Linked DNA regions of Homo sapiens: all the other regions are linked to region 1. Evidence: promoter capture Hi-C in 16 types of primary human blood cells and fetal thymus (Javierre and others, 2016). All regions are on one chromosome and are shown on one strand. Each heading gives the region's core, a stretch centred on a gene start or on the middle of the fragment in contact. The rest is flanking DNA. Distances are from core to core; before and after follow the strand shown. Region 1 holds the start of ADAMTS16 (ADAM metallopeptidase with thrombospondin type 1 motif 16). Region 2 overlaps ADCY2 (adenylate cyclase 2). Region 3 overlaps ADCY2 (adenylate cyclase 2).

Region 1 (3,583 bases), core at 996-3,495:
GCTCCAGGTCAGAGGGAAACAGGCAACACTGTTGAGGAGGATCTTTTCTCTGGTGGCATAAAAGCTTGTTGTGGATGTCCAGACTCACACATTAGCCATTTATAATTAAGGAGCTAAAGTGCATAGAAGGTAGGGGAGGAGGGTGTGTGCTGTGTCCACTGGGCTAGAACTTCACTAAGAAGGGTTTGCCTCTTCCCCTTCAGGTTCTTACCAAGCCAGATAAGTGGTTGTCATGGAGACGATACGTTGTGACAACAACTGTGGTGCCAGGTGTTCAGAGCAGCACACTGGCACCCCACTCCCAGAGAGGATGCTGAAGCAGATTGAATCACTTTAGGAGAAAAGCACACTTAGGCACGAAGCCCTGGCTTTTCTTCTTCTTTCTTCTGTGTCTATAATGTGTTTTATCTTAAATAAAACTTCATAAATGCCATAAACTATTGTGGAAATCTCCTGAGTCCCTCTGGAATTTTCATGGTTTTAGGGAACTAGAATTTTTTTTTTTTTTTTTACAAAAATCTTACTTAAAAAGGTGAATTAGAATTAACCTTTAAAATTGTAAGAATTAACTTTTAGTATTGTAAGCAAAACCCTAAAAAGGACAAGGACAACCACAAGAGGATAGTCTGTAAATGGACAGATAATTAACTTTCTCTTGTAAATTCACTGTGACAATTTTTTTTAACATTTTATATCATTTGCACCTAGCGCCCCCTGGTGGTTCTCAAAAAGGTACTATGGTGAGCGTCAATCTGACACCGGTCACCTTATATACTATTTGTGTACTCATTTGGCAGGGAATAATTTCAAAAGTTAATGCATATATTAAGTGCTTGCCTTTATGTTATTTTATCAAATTGAAATAACTATACTGAGAAATTCTGAATTGTTAACTTTAATTTTCTAGATCTTCTGGAAATACATTGAGAGAATGAAACCTAGTTCTTCCTATAAAAGTCAATTAATATTAACATTTGATACGGCAATTTATTGTTGGTAACAATGCAAAATAATATTTATTAACTGTCATTGGATGGGTTCAGGTTAAAAAACCACCTAGCAACCAGTGCGACACACCTGCGTTCTCATTTACCTGATGCAGTATGAAGACACAGAGATCCCTTTCCATAAGACAGCAAATTTCCAAATGTCACTTGTAAGTGGCAGAAGTAAAAGCATGCATTGAAAAAGAATAAGACTTGCCCTCATGTCAAATTGTGGCCCAGGATATGAACGTTGCTGATGGTGTCACAATCAGCTGATTAGCCATTTCAGGCACTATTATGTTTGAAGTACGCCCTGATTGTTGGAGCATTAACTTTGGTATTGAGATGCTAAGCGCTTCTTTTATCTCCTTCACTGAGAATAAGCAACGATAGAGGAATATTTTAATCTATAAAGGAGGAGAAGGAGGAAAGGTTGGGGACGGGAAGGAGGATCCGAGGATGTAGAAGGGGACGGAAAAGAAAGTAATTTGCTCTTTATGACGGCTTTGATGCATACATTAATAGCTTTAGATTCTTCCTAAGCTCTTTAGAATAAAATAAAATGAACTTCCTCACCTTTTTCCTAATGTTATATCAATAACTCTGGCAAACCGTTTTGCCAGGGAATAAAATGTAAATATTGGTGGAAATCCACTCATCGGGGCTCGCTCATACAGTTAAAAAAAAAAAAAGTTCACAACAGCATCTTAAAAGTAGGGTTCCACAGAGTCGTGAACATTCACAGCACCTAATAAACCAGCGGCACGGAGATTACGAGCTGCTAAATGGCAAGGATTAGAAGCCCCCACCTCACGGACTTACCGCCCTTTTCCATCCAGCCCGGCCGCTCCGCGGGTGGAGGAGGACGCGGGACGCTCGGGCTCCCAGGCGCTGCCGCTGCGGGTCCCATGGCGCACGCAGGTGCCTGCGGAAAACAGCGGCGACATCGCGGTGAGACGGCGGGGTCCGCGGGAGAGGAGCCGCGGGGGACTCGCCTCCAGCTGTCCGGACCCGCGGTTTCCGCGCTGGTGGGAGCGCCCGGGACTCACCTGCTCGGCCACCTGCGCCAACAGCATCCACAGCGCCGCCAAGCCCCGCCATCCGCGCGCGCGGGGCTTCATCCAGGAGCGCTCCGAGGGGCTAGGGGCCACCGGAGGGTCCCCGGCCGGCAGCGTGCGAGCGGGCAGGGAGGACCCGACCCAGGCAGAGCGCGGGAGGATTCCCCACAGCGACTCCGCCGCCGCGCCGGGGTTATTACTGAAGCTCCGTGCGGCGCGGGGGGCGGAGTGGCAGCCGCGGCGGCGGGGGCGGCGGGAGCGGTGGGAGAGCGCGGGGCGGGCAGGGGAGAGAGGAGGGGAGGAGGTGAGGGCGGGGGGGTCAGAGGACCGAGGAGGGGAGAGTGCAGGGACAAAGAGCAGAGGGGAGGAGGCGAGGTCAGCGGGGCGCTGAGGCGGAGGCGAGCGGGGAGCAGAGGGAAGGCGGGAGACAGCGGGCAGCGCCAGAGGAGGAGGACGCGGGAAGATGGAGCTGCCCACGGCCTGCAGTCCGTGCCTCTCTGCCCGCGCGGGGACCACACAGTTGGAGAGGCTGCCGGGCACCGGCGCGGGCGATGCTCAGCATGGACCTCCGGCCGGTGCGCGCTCCTGCCCTGCCTTGGGGCTGGGGACTCGGCGGGACTCCAGCTACTGCAGTGGCTCCGCGGGCTCCCACCTCCGGGCCGCACCGGCGCCGCCAGAGGCCGGGACACCTGCAGCCCGCGGAGTGCGGTCTGGCCGCGCCTCTGTGCCCGGGCACAGCTGTGGGGACACTGGGTGCGGAAAACCGGGCGCCAGGACGTGGGAGAGCCGCGGACCTGCCTTTAAAGGCGCGTGCCTCGCTCTGGAGTTTGCGGAGCGATCGGAGACGGGGAGGCTGAGGAGGAAACTCTTCCCCCGCGCCATTTGCCCCGAGATGTGGCGGCGCTCCTGGCCCCGCGGTCACGGCCACCCTCAACTGGCCAGGCCGCGGAGGCCGGTGACTGGCTGCTGGGTGCAATCCCTAGGGAGGTCTCAGGGCTGCGGATGGGCCTGGGTCTCGGCCGCCACGGGGGTCGATCGGGCTACTGTGTGGACAGGGTGGCCAAGGAGGCAGCAGGTGTGCGGTCAACAGCCTGGCCAGAATTCTGCTGTAGCTGGATGGGGTGTGTGAGCGCGCGGGTGTACATGTGCCTGGGTGTGCGCGGGTGTACATCCACACCTGACTGCGTGTGCGCGAGTACACGCTGTGAGCCCATAGTGTGTCTGGAATTGGTGGGTTCTTGGTCTCACTGACTTCAAGAATGAAGCCGCATACCCTCGCGGTGAGTGGGTACAGCTCTTAAGGTGGTGCGTCTGGAGTTTGTTACTTCTGATGTTCAGATGTGTTCGGAGTTTCTTCCTTCTGGTGGGTTCGTGGTCTCGCTGGCTCAGGATTGAAGCTGCAGACCTAGGCGGTGAGTGTTACAGCTCTTAAGGCAGAGCCTCTGGAGTTGTTCGTTCTTCCCGGTGGGCTCGTGGTCTCGCTGGGCTCAGGAGTGAAGCTGCAGATCTTCACGGTGAGTGTTACAGCTCATGAAAGCA
Region 2 (3,519 bases), core at 796-3,295, 2.6 Mb before region 1:
GATTGACATTGTTATCTTCACACTAACGGGCCTGTGGTCCCAAGGCTATGTGTCTTGGAAACAAAACAAGGTGATGATTTCAAGAAATTCAGAAGAAGGAATAACATAAATTATGCCCTTTGATCGATACTACCAAGTTAACCTATTGGCAAACAAAGCTGGTGTGACATCAGTGAAATTCAAATTCAAATAAAGAATATTCCTGAACAGCACAAATAGGCTGCGCTTTCAGTTCTCTACTTCTTTCACATCTTATTTTTGTATTGTTCCTAAAATTATTGTTGCCCTAAGCATTGCTGTATGTTCAATGTTGATACAACAGTTGAATGATCGTCTAAACACAGGAGAGAGGAGTTGAGAAGGTTAAAGAATCAGCCATGGCCTAGCTTCAAACCTCTACTGCTGGGAAACTTGCGCAAATTAATGATCCTCTCTGAAATGGGGTCCCAGTTTCTTCCTCTCTGAAACGGGGATAATAACAGTACCTGCCTCCTCTGTCTTTGCAGAGGTTTAAACGAGTTAGAGAAGGTGCGTGCAACAGGACTTACAAGTGTTAGCTCTTCCTGTTATTTCAATGAAGAAAACACAATGTTTCTTAGAAACATTTTAGTGACCAAAATCCTATTTCCTTTATATCTATGTAAACAACAACAAAATCTCCTCCTCTCTACTCCTTTCCACCATGTTTTTTTTTTTCTTCCTTCCAGCTCCTGATAGGAAAAGATGAACAATGTTTGTGTACAGCGCACATGCCCCCCTGAGGGAGACGCAGGACCAGGTTCCGGGTTCACTTCTTGGGCTGATTTTCCTGCGCCCTCGTCTCATTTCTCTGAGTACCTACCAGGGAGCTTGAGCCACTGCTGCCCTCAGCCGCACAGGCTGCCCAGAGCTGGACTGCTGACTGGCGGCAGGGGGCGCCCTCGGCCCAGCTCTGCAGGACATCTGATCACCGGCAACAGAAGAACCAGATCTGTACTTGACGCTTCTACTTAAGAGCAGGTTTGGATAGGGGTTGGTGATGGCAGGAAATCTGTCATGCAGCAAGATGTCCCTTAATGCTCTGAACATGCAGCATCTTAGAGGGTCAGGTAGCCAGAGAACATCCACCCACGAATGGTTATCATTATTGTTTAATGCATGCTACTTCTAATAATACTAATATCACAAAACACAGTCAGATCTGTGTTCCGTAGAAGAAGGTTTTTTGTTTTGTTTTGTTTTGTTTTTTCTTTTTTTTTTTCCTGAGACGGAGTCTTGCTCTCTCACCACTCAGGCTGGAGTTCAATGGCACGATCTCTGCTCACTGCAACCTCCGCCTCCTAGGTTCAAGCGATTCTCCTGTCTCAGCCTCCTGAGTAGCTGAGTTTTTTTTGTTTGTTTGTTTTGTTTTTTGCCATTACCTTTAAACCGCAACTACTTTTGCACCAACCTATAATACAATATGAAGAGCCGAGCTTCAAATGAAATATTATGCTCATCTAGCTCAGATTCCATTAGATAATGGCATTTGGTTTGATTCTCACAAATTAAGACAGTATTTATATATTCACATCCAGATTGACTACAGTTAGTACCTTTAAGAGAAAATTATTAAAATCAATGCTCTTATATTTGTGAAATTATGATAATTTCTGTACACAGAAATTATCAATAGATATGATAATGAAAATGTTAACAGTAGAACATTTAAAAAGTTTATTACTTCAGGGGAAAATGTACATCTAGCTAAGATTGCATATCACTGTCAATTAGGTAAAATATTAGCTAGTTATTACACAGACAAATTTTTGAAATTACAAAATTAAAACAAGTTACTGTGTTTGAAGATTTAGAAAAATACGTGGTGATAATCTTGTCAAATATGCTAATCTAATAGGAATATGTTATATTCTGCTCATAGGCTAGTAACTTACTAAAACAGACCCGGGCAGATATGCAGGAATTTTTTTCTGTTCGTGTGACATGCCAGGCAAAATGACGAATCGGCAGCACTTGCAGCTACTTACTAGACGCATGGGGGTTTGGCAGACATGGGTTTGGCACAACAGGTTCAGGATGCGCTTGGTTCAATTATTCACCCATGCATTTTCCATGCATACCTCAAAGTTCTCCCTCACAATTGTTTTAAAACTTATGCCAAATGTGTTGTTCCAGAGGTCAGGGAGACAGGCGGTATCTTTCCTTGTCACCAAGCAGTGACAAGGTAAGTAAACCTGTTCTGAAGTGTAAAAATTGGTAGGCATTGCTGCTGGCAAGGACAAGAAAGTAGAAGAGAACAGAGAGGTGACAGTTGCAATGACAGGGATGAAAGAGGAAGTGGAGGATCAAGCTGGTGGGGGGAGCAGAAGAAACCAATGATGGGGATAAGAGGAGAAACAGGACTAAGATTCTAAAATGGAAGGAACCTGATTAAGAAAAATGGAGACCCTTGATTCAGTGTGTAGCTCTGTAGAAAAATTACAACTTGGCTCTTGATATGATCATTGGCTTCAGTTTATCCTGTTTTTGATTAAGTATTAAAGGCTCTGGTGGAAAAATGTTTATCAAAATTCCGACCATCCTAATTAAATGTTATAAATGACAACATCTCAAAAAATATTTTGGCCTTTATTTGGAAGATACTATTCAACTGAAAATGAGAAAATGCCTGCTGTGAGCCCAGTCAGTGGAGTCATTTTCTTTGATCTTTGGTTTAACTCCTGGCATAATTTCAACCACATCTGTTTCCTCCCTTCCTTGATCATCTCACTGAACCCCATGATCGGCTCTTACTTACAGTGAGCTCACCGTGTACCTTCTAGAAATGCACTTGGATGTGAATATCACATTCATCCATTAACAAACAAGGGATTGATACTAAATGCAGTGGGAGATGTAATAAAAGAAGAAATATATAGGAAAATCCTAGCCAGGCACTGTGGCTCACGCCTGTAATCCCAGCACTTTGGGAGGCTGAGATGGGCAGATCATGAGGTCAGGAGTTTGAGACTATCCTGGCCAACATGGTGAAACCCTGTCTCTACTAAAAAGACAAAAATAAGCTGGGTGTGGTGGCGGGTGCCTGTAATCCCAGCTACTAAGGAGGCTGAAGCAGGAAAACTGCTTGAACCCGGGAGGCAGAGGTTGCAGTGAGCTGAGATTGCACTACTGTACTCCAGCCTGAGTGACAGAGCAAGACTGTGTCTCAGAAAAAAAAAAAAAAAAAAAAGGAAAATCCTATCATAGAATTGATGATGGGGACAACGAGCAGTGGGGTGTGGTAGGAAAAACGTGGGATGAATCCCAATGTTCTTAATCCAGTACATGCAGATCTTCCTCAGAAAAACAAAATGTTCATACATGCTCCACCAAAAATATCAGCCAGCTTCTCTTCCTTCCCTCTCTCTTTCCTTTTTTTTTTCTTCCCTTGTTTTGATCCACTTGCAATGGAAACAACTGGTAGTCTCTCAAATTAAGTTAAATCTAAATTTTTCACTCTAAAATTAATTCTTCATAATTTAACTTAATCATTATAAAAGT
Region 3 (3,993 bases), core at 1,159-3,658, 2.7 Mb before region 1:
AAAGCATATTAAAAACTGCCATAAATCGTCGGAATATTCCGGGTGTTGTGCTGGGGACATGGGCTGGCCTGCAGGTGGGAAAGTGAGTCCTTGGTAGGGGCAGGCCTCTCTTCCCTGCCAAGATAAGACCTGGGGTTGTCCAGGATTGCAGGAGTATCCCTGGGCATTAGAAGTGGCTAGCGATGTTTATGCAGAAAGTCCCGGAAGCCTTGGTACCATCAGAAAATGATTAGACTAGGCTGCCAAAACGCCCCACGATTCTTGTTCTGGCTGGGCAACTGAGCAGTCTCCACAGATGATGACCACAGCTCCAGCCCCAGGGAGAAGAGCCTCGTCTTGCACCCTAGCATGAGAGGGGAGGCAGCTGGAGCCAGTGTTGGAAACTCACTCCAAGTCTGATCTCGTGAGCAGATCCTTGGCAATGGCCAATTTGGTTGGAATATTTCCTCCCCACCTCCCATTAGTTTTCTTTTATCTCTTCCTTCTCTTGGTTGGACTTTTACTTACTTTGTAGCAAGTGTTGACTCAATCTGAATAAAAGAAGGCAGATACTTAGAAGTAATGTTTCCTCCATTCCATACAAAAATTAAAGATATCCTTTAGAAAGACCAAAGGAATGAACGAGATGGGGTAAATATGAAAGGCAGGTAAGTCGAGGTTTAATAAAAAGCCCATTCTGACAACAATGGAGGGGACAGTCTTTTAAAGAGGAAAGGACTGTGCCAGTCTGTGCAGTCAATTTTAGGAGGCAAGGCTATTCGCATGTCTTGGCTAAGCTGAGACACACACTATAGGGATTTATCAAAAGCCCAGAGGACCACCATGATAAATCTATAGTGCAAGTCCGGTGACTTTCATATAAATTTTCCATTTAGCAGAAATTCATTTTCCAGAATGTAACATAACGGGGGTGAAACGTGAATCCACTGCTTTCTGAGAGTGAGACAAATAGAGTGTTCAGCACAGACACACACACACACACACATGCATGTACACACACATGCACACACGCTTCTCACTTGCAGATCCCAGCCCTTCTCTCTGGGTGTCTGGAACTGTGTACAATCAGGTGTATGTGTTCCAGCTGCTGATGATCAGCTCACTGATGAGCTCACTGGAAGGCAGATTGAATTTCACTAATTTCTAGCTATTAATAGAAGCAGAATTTTGAAGAAGGCAAGGAAGGACCATAAAACCTTGGTATCTCCAAGCTCTTCACTGAAACACATTCTGTGTTGCTAGATGTTTGTGCCTCTGAGGGGGACAGATATTACACTGGCGTGTCATTTTGTCATTATGATAGCAAGCTTCAGGATAGCTTCTTGGTGTAATAATGGTAAAATTGAATGAAATTCTAGTATTAACCAAAATATATTAAGTGGATTTGGGTGTGGGTTCAATGATGAAAATTAAAAAGATAATCTCTAACCACAGTTTAAGCAAAATTTCCAAACCATGATACAAAATGGCTTTTGCTATAAATATATTTAAAGTTACATCTAAACCTTGTGAACATGTTTACCATTCTACATATATTATCCAAGAGTATAATGGTAGATTTAAAATGTAATGACATGCACCTCTTTATCTTCTTCTTATTCTTTTCTTAGCTGAGATCCCCTTCTTTCTTCCGAATACTGGAATGAACTGTAGCTTCCTGTTTCCACTCTTGCACCCTTCCTTCTTCACTTTTCTCCGTTAATGCTGCAGATGTTGCTACTGAGCTGTGAGCCCACTCTCCAACCACACACTGTTCCAATCTCCTTCCTTCACCGGGGGAACCTCAAACCACCTTTATTTTCACTGGTCCCCTCACTCCGTTCTTCCTGTGAGCATTGCCCCTGTTCAGGATAATTCTTGAACGCAGCCTTGAACTCCCTTCCCCTTCTGCTCCATCAGCTCACTTCACATCTGAAAAGGTGGTCTTCACACACTGTCTCCAGTTCCACACCTTTCTTACTCACACAGCCTGTCGTCTGAAAATCGAGTTCTCCAGAGCCTTCCCCAGCCACACAGGCCAGCTGAAGTCCTCCAGCACAGTCACACTTGCAGTGGCACCACTGTGACTTCTGGTGGCTAACGGTCATCTCCAAGAGAACATTCGCTGTACAAGGGCAAAGTTGAGTTTGACTTGCTCATGCTGTAGCCACAGCATCTAGTCAGCACGTGGGAGGAGCACAGGACGTGGGTGCGGAATTATTGAAGAACAGGCTTGACCAAGCTGCCATCTTCGTAGCCTCCCTTGTTTCTCTTCCCGCTCTTCCTTGATTCTGTCACTGTCAACCTGGGCAGAACCACTGCTCTTTTGTAACTGGGGGGATAGTTTCAGCATAGTTCTAATAACAGATTTTTTTTCTATTATCTTTTCAGTGATTTTAAAATACTTTTAAAAATACAATATTATTAGTGCTATTGTAATATAGTTACTTTAACCACGATTATAATTGATTTAATGAGCAATGGGAATAGTCACATAAAATAATTTTAGTTTTCTCCAACCACTGCTTTTCATTTGTTACACCTTCCTTTCTCCCTCTTGGGTGGATTCCAGAGCTGCCATTCATATCAACCTTCTGTTTCATCTCCCACCTCTCCGAAGCCTACCACTTCCCCTCCTCCCAATTCAGCTTGAGAGAAGAAGGTGAGGGGTTGTGTCTGGTTTTGGTTGCATGTGATCCCTCTCGTTTGCAAAGTCCTTTTTAAGGTATTAGCACCAGGAGAAGTAATAAAGGTTCTCCTGTACTGAATGCTCAGGGCTGTTGTGCCATCATGCTGGTTGCTGCTGGATCATTTGTTTTCACAAATATAATAGCCTTTATATTGTTAGAATTTTGTTGTTGTTGTTAACAGTCAATACAGAAACTGACATTTCCCCAAAAATTGTTCTCCAAAAGATAAGTAAATTTCAAGGTTTACTTTTTTCCTTTGTTTTAATATATTAGTATCCTTATTATACTTATTTATGGTTCCCAAGAGAACAGACATGGTTGATGCAGGCAGCGCAGACCACACTCTGCATTACCTGTATTTTGTCCAGGACTCCGGTGCTGTCCATCCTACTGGCCACATTGACAGTGTTGCCCCAGATATCATATTGTGGCTTCTGAGCTCCAATCACACCAGCTATCACAGGTCCATGGTTAATACCTGTGCCACATCAGAGTTGAGTTAGCAAGATTCATCTTATAACCATTGTCTTTTTATTTTTTTTATTTTTTGAGATGGGGTCTTATTCTGTCACCCAGGCTGGAGTGCAGTGGCGCAATCTTGGCTGACTGCAACCTTCACCTCCCAGGCTCAAGCGATCCTGCCACCTCAGCCTCCCAAGTAGCTGGGGCTACAGGAACACACCACCACACCTGGCTAATTTTTTGTATTTTTGGTAGAGACAGAGTTTTGCCATGTTGCCCAGACTGGTCTCAAACTCCTGAGCTCAGGAGATTCACCTGTCTTGGCCTCCCAAAGTGCTGGGATTACAGGAGTGAGCCACCGCGCCAGGCCAAAGCTTCCCCTTTGCAATGGAAAGTTAGGTCAGGAAACAGCCCCAATACTGTTCCAAGCAGTACCTTTGCAGGTACAGAAGAGGTAAGAAATAAATTCTCCTTTGATTTTGTGGCATACTCAGGAAAACACACTTCTGGTTTAGGCATCTCAAATAATTTATTCCAGCTCTGGCACAGGTCAGAGCACCCAGGGGTCAGCCGCTGGACACTGGCCTGCGGTTCCAGCCTTGCATCTGTCAGCTCAGCTTTTCTTCTGGCCACTGCTCATCCCTGCTTGGTCAGCAGCTCTGGGGGTGGGGAAGAGCCTGGACTGATTATTGCTGGCAACATGGCCATCTCTAGTTAGTGTAGGAGTGTGCTTGATTTGTGGTTCCAACTGATTCTACAGCTAGATATGCTGAAAAGGATGCTAGGAGTGAATTCACCTCATTATTTGTCCCATCGCTTTTGTTGGCAATATTATTCTTCCACTTTGCTATCCCTGAACTAC

What was found. The method cuts DNA at HindIII sites, captures the fragments that hold promoters and counts their contacts. A CHiCAGO score of 5 or more calls a contact.
Region 2: a fragment that was not itself captured here is called in contact with the fragment with the promoter of ADAMTS16 in region 1 in 3 of 17 cell types (naive B cells, total B cells and naive CD8 T cells); the score reaches 19.0 in naive B cells.
Region 3: a fragment that was not itself captured here is called in contact with the fragment with the promoter of ADAMTS16 in region 1 in 2 of 17 cell types (naive B cells and total B cells); the score reaches 11.2 in naive B cells.

What each region holds. Positions count from the first base shown.
Region 1 is chr5:5,138,992-5,142,574 of GRCh38, reverse strand. ADAMTS16 (ADAM metallopeptidase with thrombospondin type 1 motif 16) reads right to left here and starts at 2,245. Exons shown (of 23, transcript NM_139056.4): 1 at 2,036-2,245; 2 at 1,809-1,911. The coding sequence starts at 2,107. ADAMTS16-DT (ADAMTS16 divergent transcript) reads left to right here and starts at 2,521. Exons shown (of 4, transcript NR_109915.1): 1 at 2,521-2,619. ADAMTS16-AS1 (ADAMTS16 antisense RNA 1) reads left to right here. Exons shown (of 2, transcript NR_198969.1): 2 at 204-437. RefSeq lists an enhancer at 2,473-3,039. The HindIII fragment of the contact is 3,896 bases long and covers 67-3,583 here.
Region 2 is chr5:7,752,584-7,756,102 of GRCh38, reverse strand. All of the region lies in intron 15 of ADCY2 (adenylate cyclase 2), which reads right to left. Among named protein-coding and RNA genes, the nearest start is that of CFAP90, 97 kb to the left of the region's middle. The HindIII fragment of the contact is 4,872 bases long and covers 1-3,519 here.
Region 3 is chr5:7,819,719-7,823,711 of GRCh38, reverse strand. ADCY2 (adenylate cyclase 2) reads right to left here. Exons shown (of 25, transcript NM_020546.3): 24 at 3,023-3,147. Among named protein-coding and RNA genes, the nearest start is that of CFAP90, 29 kb to the left of the region's middle. The HindIII fragment of the contact is 2,198 bases long and covers 1,310-3,507 here.